Regions from separate parts of the Homo sapiens genome. Here regions 2 and 3 are each linked to region 1. The links are contacts of gene promoters, found by promoter capture Hi-C in human tissues and cell types (Jung and others, 2019). All regions are on one chromosome and are shown on one strand. Each heading gives the region's core, a stretch centred on a gene start or on the middle of the fragment in contact. The rest is flanking DNA. Distances are from core to core; before and after follow the strand shown. Region 1 holds the start of KLF15 (KLF transcription factor 15). Region 2 has its middle 61 kb from the start of KLF15. Region 3 holds the start of LOC105374088 (a long non-coding RNA gene).

Region 1 (4,012 bases), core at 412-2,911:
GCTGTTCTCCAGTTTCTAGCCAGTGGGGCCTCCTCCCTGTGTGCTGAAGGTGCTAACGATGTGTCTTTGCTTCCAAGCTTTTTCTGACCTTTTGCTGCAGCTTTCACCAAGGAGATGGGAGGCACTAGACTGAGAGTATGTGAGGAGTGAAGACCGAGGGCGGGCAGGGCAGATGGAGAAGTGCTGTGGCTATGCCCAATCCAGACCTGCACTGAGACAAAATGAGGAATACAGGCCTCTATCTCTTCTCTTATGAAAATGGACAAATTCCACTGTTCTGCCCAGGCTAGCCAGGGCTGCTGTAATGCCAGAGTGGTCATTCCAACTTCTGTGAACTAGAAAGCCTCTCACCATCCTCAACACAAATGTCCTTAAAGCCCTCTGGCAACGCATTGGTTTGGCTCCTAGTGGCAGCAGCAGCTGAATCCCTGGCACTGACCTGGTGCACAGTGTCCCCAGATCCCTGGTCAAGCAAGCCTAGACCTATAGCATTCCAGAGAGCCTGGAAAGGGTATGGTTAAAAATTCCTGTTCTAGCAATGTCTTCAAGAAGAAGCAGGAGAAAATGCTCCCCACCTCCCAGTGCCAGGAGGGGAGAGGAAGGAAGCTCAGTAGGACAGCTCTGCACAGGTGGCCTGGGGGTGTCTGCAAGATGACCTGGCTCTACCTCTCTACCTGCTCCTTCCCAGCTGTGGGGCTGGGGAGGGCTGGTGCCCTCTCTGAGTCGGTTTCTTCATCTGTAAAGTGCTTGGCTGAGGATCCAGCTGGAGTGTGGATTAAAGGGCACAGCAGGGTGCCTAGCACCGTCAGCCCACGTGTTTTTCTTGGGCAAGCCACTCTGAGCCTTACTCTTCCTGTCTCTAAGCGGGAACCCAAATGCGAGCCAGGATTGCTGCGGACTAAAGCAGTCTACGAACGCTTTTGTAGACTGCGAAGCATTGTTTGGTCTTCAGAAAGGTGCCCCAGAGACAAGGTGTCATTGGTTTCAGGTGGGGGGGGGGGGGGCCGGTCAGCAAACCTCCTTAGTCCTGGAGGGCAGGGTGGCAGCGCAGAGCGCGCGCAATTTCCGGAGGGTAACTGATTGTCCTGCTGAAAGCCCAATACCGTATTTATCCAAAAATACGTCCTTCTAGGCAAGTGATTTATCTGACACTCAGCGGGGGACAGAGCTGCTTGTACCGCGCTGGGGATGAAGGTGGGGACGTGGGCCAGACCGGGCCAGACAGGCTCCCCAGCGCTTCCCGCTCAATCACGCAGACTGCACTTTGGGGCGATCTCAGAGCTTTTCTTAAGTCTTCAGGCCAGTCTCACGTTCTCACCTTGGGAACCGAGCTTTAGAAGCCGGCCCTCGTGGACGCCGCGAGACAGCGGCGAGAGGTGGGAAGCAAGGAGGTGGCTGCGGGCCAGGGACCAGGCAGCGTGTTGGGGGGCGTGCGCGTCTGGCAGCTCCGGGATCCCCGAGCATCCGCCGCTCAAGTCCGGGAGCCGCGCGGGCGGGCCGGGGCGGGGCCAGGGCGGGGCCAGGGCGGGGCGGGACGTGTGACGCGCAGCGCGGGCCAATGGGGCGCGCGCCCGGGGCCGAGCCTCCTGCGAGCCTTCGCGGCGCCCGCTGCGTCACGTGAGCGGCGGGGAGTGAGTGCCCAGCGAGCTGCGGGCGGGCTAGTGCTCCGCCGCAGCGACCCGCGGGCCGGCGGGCGATCGAGCCAGCGCAGGACCCGCGGCTCGGCCCCCGGCCGCCGCCGGACCGAGAGTCTAGCCGCCGCCCCCAGCCCAGCCCGCCCGGCCGCAGGACCGCCGGGGCCTGGCCGCCGGTCCGGCGTGCGCCAAGTTCAGGTGGGAGAGGCGCGGCGGGGCCGGCCGGCCGCGTGGACGCGGCCCCGGGTGATCAGAGGGCTGGCCGGCCTCGGGGCGCGTGGCCGTGCTCCCGCGCAGCTCTCGGAGGCACCGCGCGAGTGCTGGAGGAATGTCGGAGGAGCGGGATGGGCCCCCGCGGAGGTGGGCAGGGGTCGGACTGGCCCGGGGGAGGTGACCCCCCCCGCCCCGGTCGCCCACCAGCACTTTGCTGAGGCCCGCGCCGCCGCCTCGGTGCCTGGCCGGGCGATTCCGTGGCGCGCCTTGCGGGCCGGCCCTCCCATATGGTGGGCACCGGCGCGGCCTGGTGAGAGGAGGGGGAGAGCGGACGCGCTGGCCAGCCCGGGGTTGGGGGGCGGAGGGGCTGGAGACGGAGGGGTTACTGTCGGTCACCGCAGCAGTGTCGGGGGCAAGGGGGGGGCGTGGGACGAGGGCATGGTGCCCAGCGGGCAGCGGTCCAGGACTCTAGAAGGGGTCTGAGCCGGCTCTCTTCATTTCCCACGCACGTTTCCCCTCACCCGCCGGCACCCACGGCGGCTCCACGCGCGAGTCCTTCGCGGACAGCCTCCCGCACAGCCACAGCGGCTGCCGCGCACCACGCCCCGCACACGCAGTCACACGACAGGAACTCACACCCCTTCACGCACACCCGCACCGTTCACGCGTCTCACTCCACGCTGAGTCCCCGTCCGCTCAGACCGAACATTACCAAAGCCATGGCCTGACCGAGGGATGGCGGCGGCGGGGCAGAGAGGCCGTCCCCATCCCATATGGTGGTCCGGTTCACTCTTCCCTCCCCGCCTTGGTGTTACTCATGGAACCCCCCTCTCACGGAGGGCACAGAGGGGCTGTTTTCTCCCACGGCCCTCGGAGGTGACAAAATCAACAATTGTTTGAGAGCCTCAAATCTCCTTCCCCCTGTCCCCCCGGACCAGGTGGCCCCTGGGGAGACCCTGCCGCCCTACAGGTGTGAGGACGCCCGGACTCTGCGACTTTGGGGCCTGCGGGCGGCTCAGGGACCGGAGACTCTTATTTTGAAGGACAGCCCCCGCCGCCACCCCCGTGATTTGCACGCTGACCCAATGGCAAGCCCTTGGCCGGCGCTGGGCTTGTTATCAATTACATGTTGTTCCTGCAGCCGCTGTGTCCCCGGGAGGATAAACAGCAGGCCTGGCCGGGCCAGGGGAGGGGGCGGAGTCCGGCGGCCAGCCGGGGACTGTGCCCGGAACAGCGTGTCCCCTCCCCCTGCACGCAGCCTGCGCCTCTGGCCGCCCCACGTGCTGCTGTGTTTCAGGGGCCGAGCCAGCTCCAGCCCTAGAGTGTCCTCTCTTTAATGCCGGTGCCCTGGGACATCCCAGAGCCCTTTCTGGGTTGTCAGTGCCTGGGTGCTTCCCCCTTGGGACGTTCAGCCCAGCATTAAGACCCTGTTGGCTGACCTGGGCCACCCATTCCTACTCTCCGACCTCCCCCGCTCTCCCCCGCACCTTCCATTCACTCATTCAGCAAATTTTGCCCGGTCCTGTTTTAGACTCTGGGATATGGCCTTGGAGTGAACAGTCAGGACAGCTGATATTCTGATGGGAAGGTAGACAGGGAGGAAAGTTCACAAACACATCACCAAGATAGTTTCCCACAGTAGAAACTGCAGGGAAGAGTATAATATAGGATGATGTAACAGAGTGGGCCTGGAGGCCCCCACAGGGGTGACTTCTGAGCCGAGATCTAACTAAGCAGCTCCCACCTGCAGTGCTGGGGGAAGAGCCAGGGCAGTGGCCCCGGGCTGAGGCTGAAGTGAAGTGAGCACACCTGGACTAGAAGAGAGGCAGTTGGTGGTGAGGTCTGCAGAGAGTCCCAAGGGCCCAGGTGCTGGGCTGCTGCGAGGAGATAGGGCCACCTGTCCTTGGGAAGCCATTGGAGGGTGTTTCCTTCCAGCCCCCCTACTGTACTTTTTAGATCACTTTATCTGTCAATATCTGTTTATATGTTTAAAAGGTAAGGCCTCCTTTAACCACAATATGATCATCACAATTAAAAATATTAACAGTAATTACTTAATATCATGGGATGGCCAGTTAGTGATCACGTTTCAGGGGAGGGCTCTAAGGCCTGCTCTGGGTCCCAGGAGGGCTGGAGGCCCCTGATTCCTTAACATCACAGTAGAG
Region 2 (4,012 bases), core at 1,049-3,548, 62 kb after region 1:
GTGAAAAGGGAGCATTTCTACACTGCTGGTAGGAATGTAAACTAGTACAACCACTACGGAAAACAGTATGGAGATTCCTTAAAGAACTAAAAGTAGAACTACAATTTGATCCAGCAATCCTGCTACTGGGTACCTACCCAGAGGAAAAGAAGCCATTATATGAAAAAGACACTTGCACACGCATGTTTATAGCAGTACAATTCAGAATTGCAAAAATATGGAACCAACCTAAATGCCCATCAACCAATGAGTGGATAAAGAAAATGTGGTATATAAACATGGAATACCATTCAGCCATAAGACAGAATGAAATAATGGCCTTTGCAGCAACTTAAATGGAGCTGGAGGCCATGAATAATGAATAAGTTAAGTAACTCAGAAAAAGAAAACCAAATATCATATGTTCTCACTTATAAGGGGGAGCTAAGCTATGAGGATGCGAAGGCATAAGAATAATACGATGGACTTTGGGGACGTGTGGGGAGAGGTGGGTGAGGAAAAAAAGACTACATACTGGGTACGGTGCACACTGTTTGGGTGATGGGTTCACCAAAATCTCAGAAATCACCACTAAAGAACTTATCCATGCAACCAAAAACCACCTGTTCCCCAAAAATGACTGAAATAAAAAAAGAATATACTGGATTGTGAAACCATAAATGGATTCAAATTTATATGAAATTTAGTATATGATAGAAAGCAATATTTTACAATAGTGGGGCAATAATAAATTAATTAAAAAGTAGTGTTAGGTCAACAGGCTTATCATTTGGAGTAAAAGTTAGATACATTACATGATATCTTACATCAAAATAAGTTCCAGATTCATTACTTAAGCATAAAGATGAATAAGGCTGTTAAAATATGGTGCTAGAAAAAAAAACAGGTGACTCTTTAAGCAAATATAAAACAGGGCAAGTATAACACTGTAGCTAGAAACTATAAAAGAAGACATTTCAAGGTTTAACTAACAAAATTTTAAAAATTAAGTTTAGAATTAATCACCACACAGAAAGTTACTAAGGCGCAGTGACACATGCCTGTTGTCCTAGCTACTTGGGAGGCTGAGGTGGGAGGATTGCTTCAGCCCAGAGTTCAAGTCCAGCTTGGGCAACATAACAAGACCCTGCATCTAAAAAACAAAACAAACGAAAAAAAGAAAGTTACTAAAGAAATGATCAACTAGAAAATAAAAATGTTTGTATCACAAAGTTAATACCCTAAAGTATATACATAATTCTTACAAACTAAGAAGAAAGGAGATGAATATCCCCTCAAAATAATGAGCAATAACAACTGCCAACTTTTCCTATTTGAGAATGGAAGCTGCCTTAATGAATTAATTTGTATTCCCTTCAGAACAAACTTTTGAAGTAGTTACTGTGTTTTCTACACTTTGGAGGTAAGGAATCAGAAGCTTAGGGAATGTAACCAAACTCCCACATTCACTCGGCTGGACTTGCAGATTCAGGCCATAGCCCTAGACATGCTAGGTGCTAATCCCTAGGCTGCAGGCCTCTCTTGAAAAGACAAGGCATCTAAATTGCTAAGAAATATAACTTGGCAGATTAAGAATGTATGTTGCAGTCTGGCGTGGTGGCTCACGCCTGTAATTCCAGCACTTTGGGAGGCCAAGGCGGGTGGATCACGAGGTCAGGAGATAAAGACCATCCTGGCTAACATGGTGAAACCCCGTCTGTATTAAAAATACAAAAAATTAGCCGGGCATGGTGGTGGGCGCCTGTAGTCCCAGCTACTCAGGAGGCTGAGGCAGGAGAATGGCGTGAACCTGGGAGGTGGAGCTTGTAGTGAGCAGAGATCACGCCACTGTACTCCACCTGGGCGATAGAGCGAGACTCCAAATATAAATTTAGCACACATTAAAAATAACAGTAAGATTTTTCAAGCCCCCCTGAGGCTGAGAAACATGAACAATGAGTAACACCCAGCATTAGTGACACTGTGGGATGTTAAAGAAAATATTATGCAATATTTAAATAATACCTTGTTAAAGCATGGCAAGGTAGGCTTTATTCAGGACCATTGTGATACGTACAGGGACAACAGCAATGGGACTGTGCAGTGGGGAAGAGAGATCAGCATCAACTATGAATATACCACAGACAAGTCGGAATTTACAACCAGGAGCCAGACTAGGGTCAGTGGATGGGAAATGACTAAGAAGAAGCATCAGGGTTTAGGGGGTCCCTGGCTAATCCAACCTAACAGTGTTCTTGCTGAAGACAGGTCAGCATAACCAACATCACCTGGGGGATGGTGGTGGGTGAAGAATCTGATCAGACATGAAGGACAGGGAGTTCTTGCCAAACTGACTTAGCTTTGTTCTTGCTAAATCTGGATTTTGCAAGGAAGTGCACAGATGGGTCAAGGGGAAGGTTCAGAAGCCTGACTAAAGTTTGGCCAAGCATATAATCTTTGTCAAGGGACAGACAGTCTCACTTGTTGGTAGCCATGTGAAGCTGATCACATCTCTGGGTGGAGGGGAGGGTGCCAGGGGAGGGGAGGAGGCACTGATCTGGCCATGGCACTCGGGATACGAATGTGGATGCCTTTGTATCCTCAGTGCCATACTTTGTATCCTGAGTTGGTTTGGGCCTTTTGACCAAACCAACGGGGAAACTAATCTTAGAGCAGCATATGGTGACGGGGGTACAGAGACAGGCTTCGAGCAAAGGCCTGGATGTAGTTCCCAGCGTTGCCCTCACTAGAAGTGTAGGCTTGGGCCAAGGAAGCTGGAGGTTCTTCATCTTCCAAAGTGGATAGTAACTGTATCTGCTCTTAAAGTTGTTGTAAGGACCAGTAGGCTGTAGAAGAGCCTAAGCTGTTTGTGTCTTCTGTGATTGTTTGCTTTTTAAAAACAATGATCTGACAGCTGTTATTGGAATATATATTTATATATGTATGTAGTTCTTTATGAGCATATATGTATGTGTATATGTATGTATATGCATGTGTGTACATATGTGTGTGCATGCTCATGTGCATCTATGTGTATCTATATGCATGTGCGTATAAGTGCATGCATGTGCATGTATATGTGCACATGTGTATGTGTGTATTATGTGTATATATGAATCCATAGACGTATGTATATATGCACATATATACATGTTTGTGTGTATCTATGCATGCATGGACATGCACATGTGTGTATGTGTACGTATCTGTGTGTGTGTGTGTGTGTGTGTGTGTGTGTGTGTGTGTGTATGGAGGGGCAGGGCCACTGGCAAAAGACTTGGCTTTAGAAGTAGAGAGGCTCTGACAGGGAGGTTTCTTCCTAGCGGCAGGGCAAAGGGAGCAGAGATGCTTGGAAGGGAAAGAAGGAACCCGATTTTCTCTGGAGAGGGCCCCAAAGCCTGTGCAAGGCTCGTTCTTGAGCTGCTGACCTCAGCAGCAGAGATGGGGCAAAGTTAGAGAGGCCAAATGCAACCAAGGGTCAGCCTGCAAGCAGAGAAAAGTGCTCAGTTAAAAAATTACTCGAGCCACCCTTTGGACTGACTGAAGGCCTTGCTCTTCCTCCTGCCCCACAGGCTATCAACTGGTGTATGGCTTAATTATTGACGTTTAAAAGTGAGTTAACTGCTTTCTTACAGATGAATCGCAATTAATAAATGTGGAACGAATGAGAGACGAAGACGATGAGCACCAGAGGACTGCAGGGAGCACGGCTGAGGCAACATCACCAGAGGATAGTAAAATTAGCAGACAGAGATCTAAGCACAAACAGTGTCTCTGTGTAGCCTTAAAGCATCTCTTTGAATATTTAATGGTTACAAAGGAAAAACAGTGAGTTGATGGGGGAGAACCCTGGCAGGCACCACCCTAACCAAGAGATCAAAGTTGGCATGACCAGGCACAAGGCACACTAACAGCCCACACCCACTGATCTGGCCCACCGAAAATGCACATCACTTCTGTGGCATTGCCACGGAATTTCCAAAAAGGCATTACCTCAGTCCAATGCAGAGAAGGCGTCAGGCAGACCTAGGCG
Region 3 (4,012 bases), core at 917-3,416, 43 kb after region 1:
ACAGGCCACACGTGGTCTCTGCCGCAATTATTTGTTTGAATTCTTGTCTCTTACAACCCTTTAAAAATGCAAATACAGTTCCCAGCTTGCACAGAGACAGACAGCAGTGGGATTTGACTCTAGAGTGCGGCTTGCCAACCCCTGTTCTAGAATCTTAAAAACCTCCTTCTCTTATGTCGGAATCAGCCATGACCTAGTTGTCAGAGGGTCCCAAGCCTTGACCCCTCTTTTCCACATAAGAATATTTTCCTTCCCAGAACCGTAGCATTTTCTTTGCCTCATAAAATGATGGCTTTTTATTCAGAAGTGGCACAGTCCAGGGAGGTGCAGGAGAGGAATTTCAAAGGATAGGTAGAAAGCCCACCTCCTTCTTGAAGTGATTTGGAGTCATGCAGGCCTGAGTTCCTGTCCTGGCCCAGCCTCTCACTCAAAATGTGTCTCTCTGAGCCTCAGTTTTCTGTTAAGATGCAGCCGGAGACAGCAGTGTTGCTGTGAGCTGTGAGAGTGTGTGCTGGCCCTCGGAGCCTGCCGGCCTTCTATCCCTCCCCTCCCGCTCTCCTCCTGTCCCCCCTGACTTCCCTCTTCACTCTTGTGTAGGGAGCCCAGGATCCCAATGTCTGGGAACTTCCCTGCTCCATATTGACAAGATGTGGCCCTAGGTCCCGCCCCTCCCCCATCTGGGGCACAGTGGGGTGGACCATGCAGCACAGGCTGGGCCCATCCTACCACTTAGCTTCCAAGACACAGTGCGTTACTGTTGAAAAGTGCCCCCACCAAGAAGAGATATGTTCTAACTCTAACTGTACTGGGAGTTACAGCCCTAACTCCCAGTACTTCAGAATGTGAACTTGTTCGGAGCTAGAGTTGTTGCAGATGTAATTATTTAAGATGAGGTTGCACTGGAGTAGGGTGGGTCTCTCTAATGCAATATGACTGGTGTCCTTATAAAAAGGGGACATTTGGACACAGACACACACATGGGGGAACCCCAAGTGGTCATGAAGGTGGAGATCAGGGTGACAGCCTACAAGATAAGGAACTCCAAAGATTGGCAGCAAATAGCAGGAGCCAGGAGGGGGACTTGGAACAGACGCTATCTCAGAAGCAGACATCCCTGGCCGCAGTTTCATCCTGGACTTCCTTCCCCCAGAACTGTGAGACAAGAGACATCTGCGGCCCCTAGTGTGTAGTGCTCTGGCAGCCCTAGCCAACTCTATGCAAGGTCTGTATCTTTCTCAAGGAAAGCAAGCCATAAAAAGATGGCCTTGGGGTCCTGGCTGTCTGTCTTTCTTTACCAAATTAGTGGAATTTTCTGTGATCAGAGAGAACGATGCTGATGCAATAGACAGACAGAGGGGATTACTACTATATGGGGGCATAGAGGGCCCTCATGTCTAGCCCTCCCTGGACTTCGCCTCTGTTCTGCCCCAGGTGGAGCCCAGTATTCGTTTGCTGAGCTGTGCTGTGTGCAGCTGTGGGGTGAATGGCTCTGGGCCCTGCTGGGGTCACTGTGGGAAGTGTAGTCCTCAGTTCTAGTAGCAAGAGCCTGGGGCACAGAGGTGTGGGAGGCAGGAGCTACTGGTTGGATGGGAGGAACCTGGGAACACGTGTGGGTCCCTGTGTGGGAGCCCTGAGCCCTAAGAACACAACTGGCCATAGGGAGGTTGCTCTGTGTTCTGATTCTCTGCTTCCCCAAGCGGTCAGTCAGGCTCTGTCAAGCATCATGGCCTTGACTTAGCTGTGCTTGGCCCATTCAAAGGAAGACACATGAATGACATTTGCAAGGAAGGTGGCAATGGCTCCTCCCACCCCTGTATGTGTGGTCCTTGGTGATGTGCTGTGACTCTCCTGTCAAGGGGGGACCCATATCCCCACCCTTTGAATTTTGGACTGACATTTTGTGAGCTATTGGAACCCCGAGAGCACCCCAGCCCCCATGAGGAATCCTGGGCAGGCCTTGTGAGGATGAGTCCCTCTGGGTGACCGTTGGCCACCGAGCGAGGGAGTGACACAGCCTGAGACCAGGGCTCAGCAAGCTTTTGTATAAAGAGCAAGATAATAGATATTTTAGGCTTTGTGTGGCCACATGCAGTTTCTGTCTCACCTCATCAACTGCTGTTGCAGCATGAAGCAGTCACTGGCAACACATAACTGTATGAGCCTGGCTGTGTGCCAATAAAACTTTATTTACACAAACAGATGGTAGACGGGTTTGCAGTTTGCTGAGTTCTGCTCAAGCCTCAGCTGAAGACATCCCTAGATGACTTTAGCCACACAACGTGCCCCAGTGTAAGGACCATGGCTGAGCCCAGACCAGATGGTCAGACCACAGGAGTGAGAGCAAAGAAGATGGTGGTTGTTTTAAGCCTAAGTTTTGGGTAGTTGGTAAGTAGCAATAAGTAGCTCATACAAGGCAGGTCTGTGTGTGGAACCAGTAGGGAGGGCAGGAGAAGGTGGGGTTGAGCCATGCCAGGGACTGAGGATGACAAGTGTGAAAAATGACCCTCTGCAGGAAGTCCAGGGCAAGTCAGTATTCCCAGACATTGCTTGGGATGGGGATGCCAGGGCCAGGGCCCAGAAACACTAGGTTACAGGTTGAATCATGTCCCCCAAAATTTATATCTCAAAGTCCAAATCACCAGTGTCTCCAAATGTGACCTCATTTAAAGATAGGGTCACTGCAGATGTAATAGTTAGGATGTGGTCATCCTGGAGTCATTCTGGAGTAGGATGGGCCCTTGTATGAGTCAGCTGAGGCTGCGTAACAGAATGCCCCATATGAGTGGCTTAAACAACAGAGGTTCATTTCCCCACAGTTCCAGAGGCTGGAAGTTGGAGGTCAATGCGTCAGCAGGGTTGGATTCTCCCACGGCCTGTCTCTCTCTGCCGTGCAGCTGGCCGCCTTTTCGCTGTGTCCCCATGTTGTCATTCCTCTGTGCACTTGCATCTCTGGGGTCTCTTTGTGTGTCCCAACCCCCTCTTCTTACAAGCACCCCAGTCAGGTTGGATTAAGGGCTACTTTTAAAGGCCTCATTTTCACTTTATGGCCTGTTTAAAGGCCTAATTCCAAATTTGGTTCCATTCTGAGGTTCTGGGGGTTAGGACTTAGATATATGAATTTTGGGAGACAGAACTCAGCCCATAACATCCCTGAATTCTATGTGATGAGGATCTTCATAAAAGGGGAGCTGGGAGCTGCCATGCACAAGGAGAATGCCACGTGAACATGAGCGGGAGGTCAGTAATGCTGAAGGGCTCCAACCACCAGCAGAAGCTAGGCGAGGGCCCAGGACAGACAGACCTTCAGGGCCTTAAAGGGAACCCGCCAGTCTACACACACCTTGATCGAGGACTTGCAGCCTCCAAAACTGTGAAAACGCAAATGTCTGTTGAAGCCCTCAGGCTGTCGTACTTTGTTACAGCAGCCCTGGAAAACTCACAGATGCTGTAATTTAAATTTTAATTAGAGAGATGATACAGTATTTGGTGCCCTGCATGGATGAAGCAGGAGGGTTCTTGTGTTAGATGGGAAAAGCACTTAGCGCATTGCTGGGTGCCAGGCGGGCCCCCTAAGGGAGAGTCAGACATAAGAAACAGGAGGGAAGCTTACCAGTGAAATCCATTTATGGAAACATTGAATACTCAGGTTCTGGCTGGGCGCGGTGGCTCATGCTTGTAGTCCCAGCGCTTTGGATGACCAAGGTGGGAGGATCACTTGAGTCCAGGAGTTTGAGACTAGCTTGGGCAACATAGTGACGCCCCATGTCTACAAAAAAGACAAAAAATTAACAGGGCATGGTGGCATGCACCTATAGTCCCAGCTACTCAGGAGGCTGAAGTGGGAGGATCCCTTGAGCCTGGCAGGTTGAGGCTGCAGTGAGCCTTGCATCACTCTACTCCAGTGTGGGTGACAAAGCAAGACCCTAACTCTAAAAAATCCCAAAAGACTCAGGTTCTTAGATACAAGGGCTTCCACATGAGCTCTGACAGCCACAGCATCTGCTGCACACTG

What was found. The method cuts DNA at HindIII sites, captures the fragments that hold promoters and counts their contacts. A contact is called where the count stands out against the background at its distance.
Region 2: a contact is called between a fragment that was not itself captured here and the fragment with the promoter of KLF15 in region 1, in 1 of the 25 tissues and cell types used here (pancreas).
Region 3: a fragment that was not itself captured here is called in contact with the fragment with the promoter of KLF15 in region 1 in 6 of the 25 tissues and cell types used here (H1 embryonic stem cells, heart left ventricle, liver and 3 more).

The regions. Positions count from the first base shown.
Region 1 is chr3:126,355,057-126,359,068 of GRCh38, reverse strand. KLF15 (KLF transcription factor 15) reads left to right here and starts at 1,661. Exons shown (of 3, transcript NM_014079.4): 1 at 1,661-1,832. RefSeq lists a silencer at 1,482-1,701 and enhancers at 1,600-2,359, 2,360-3,119. The HindIII fragment of the contact is 9,710 bases long and covers 1-4,012 here.
Region 2 is chr3:126,294,080-126,298,091 of GRCh38, reverse strand. It overlaps a transcript of KLF15 not described here. Among named protein-coding and RNA genes, the nearest start is that of KLF15, 61 kb to the left of the region's middle. The HindIII fragment of the contact is 3,548 bases long and covers 525-4,012 here.
Region 3 is chr3:126,312,114-126,316,125 of GRCh38, reverse strand. LOC105374088 (a long non-coding RNA gene) reads right to left here and starts at 3,766. Exons shown (of 3, transcript XR_924454.4): 1 at 3,611-3,766. It also overlaps a transcript of KLF15 not described here. The HindIII fragment of the contact is 7,168 bases long and covers 1-4,012 here.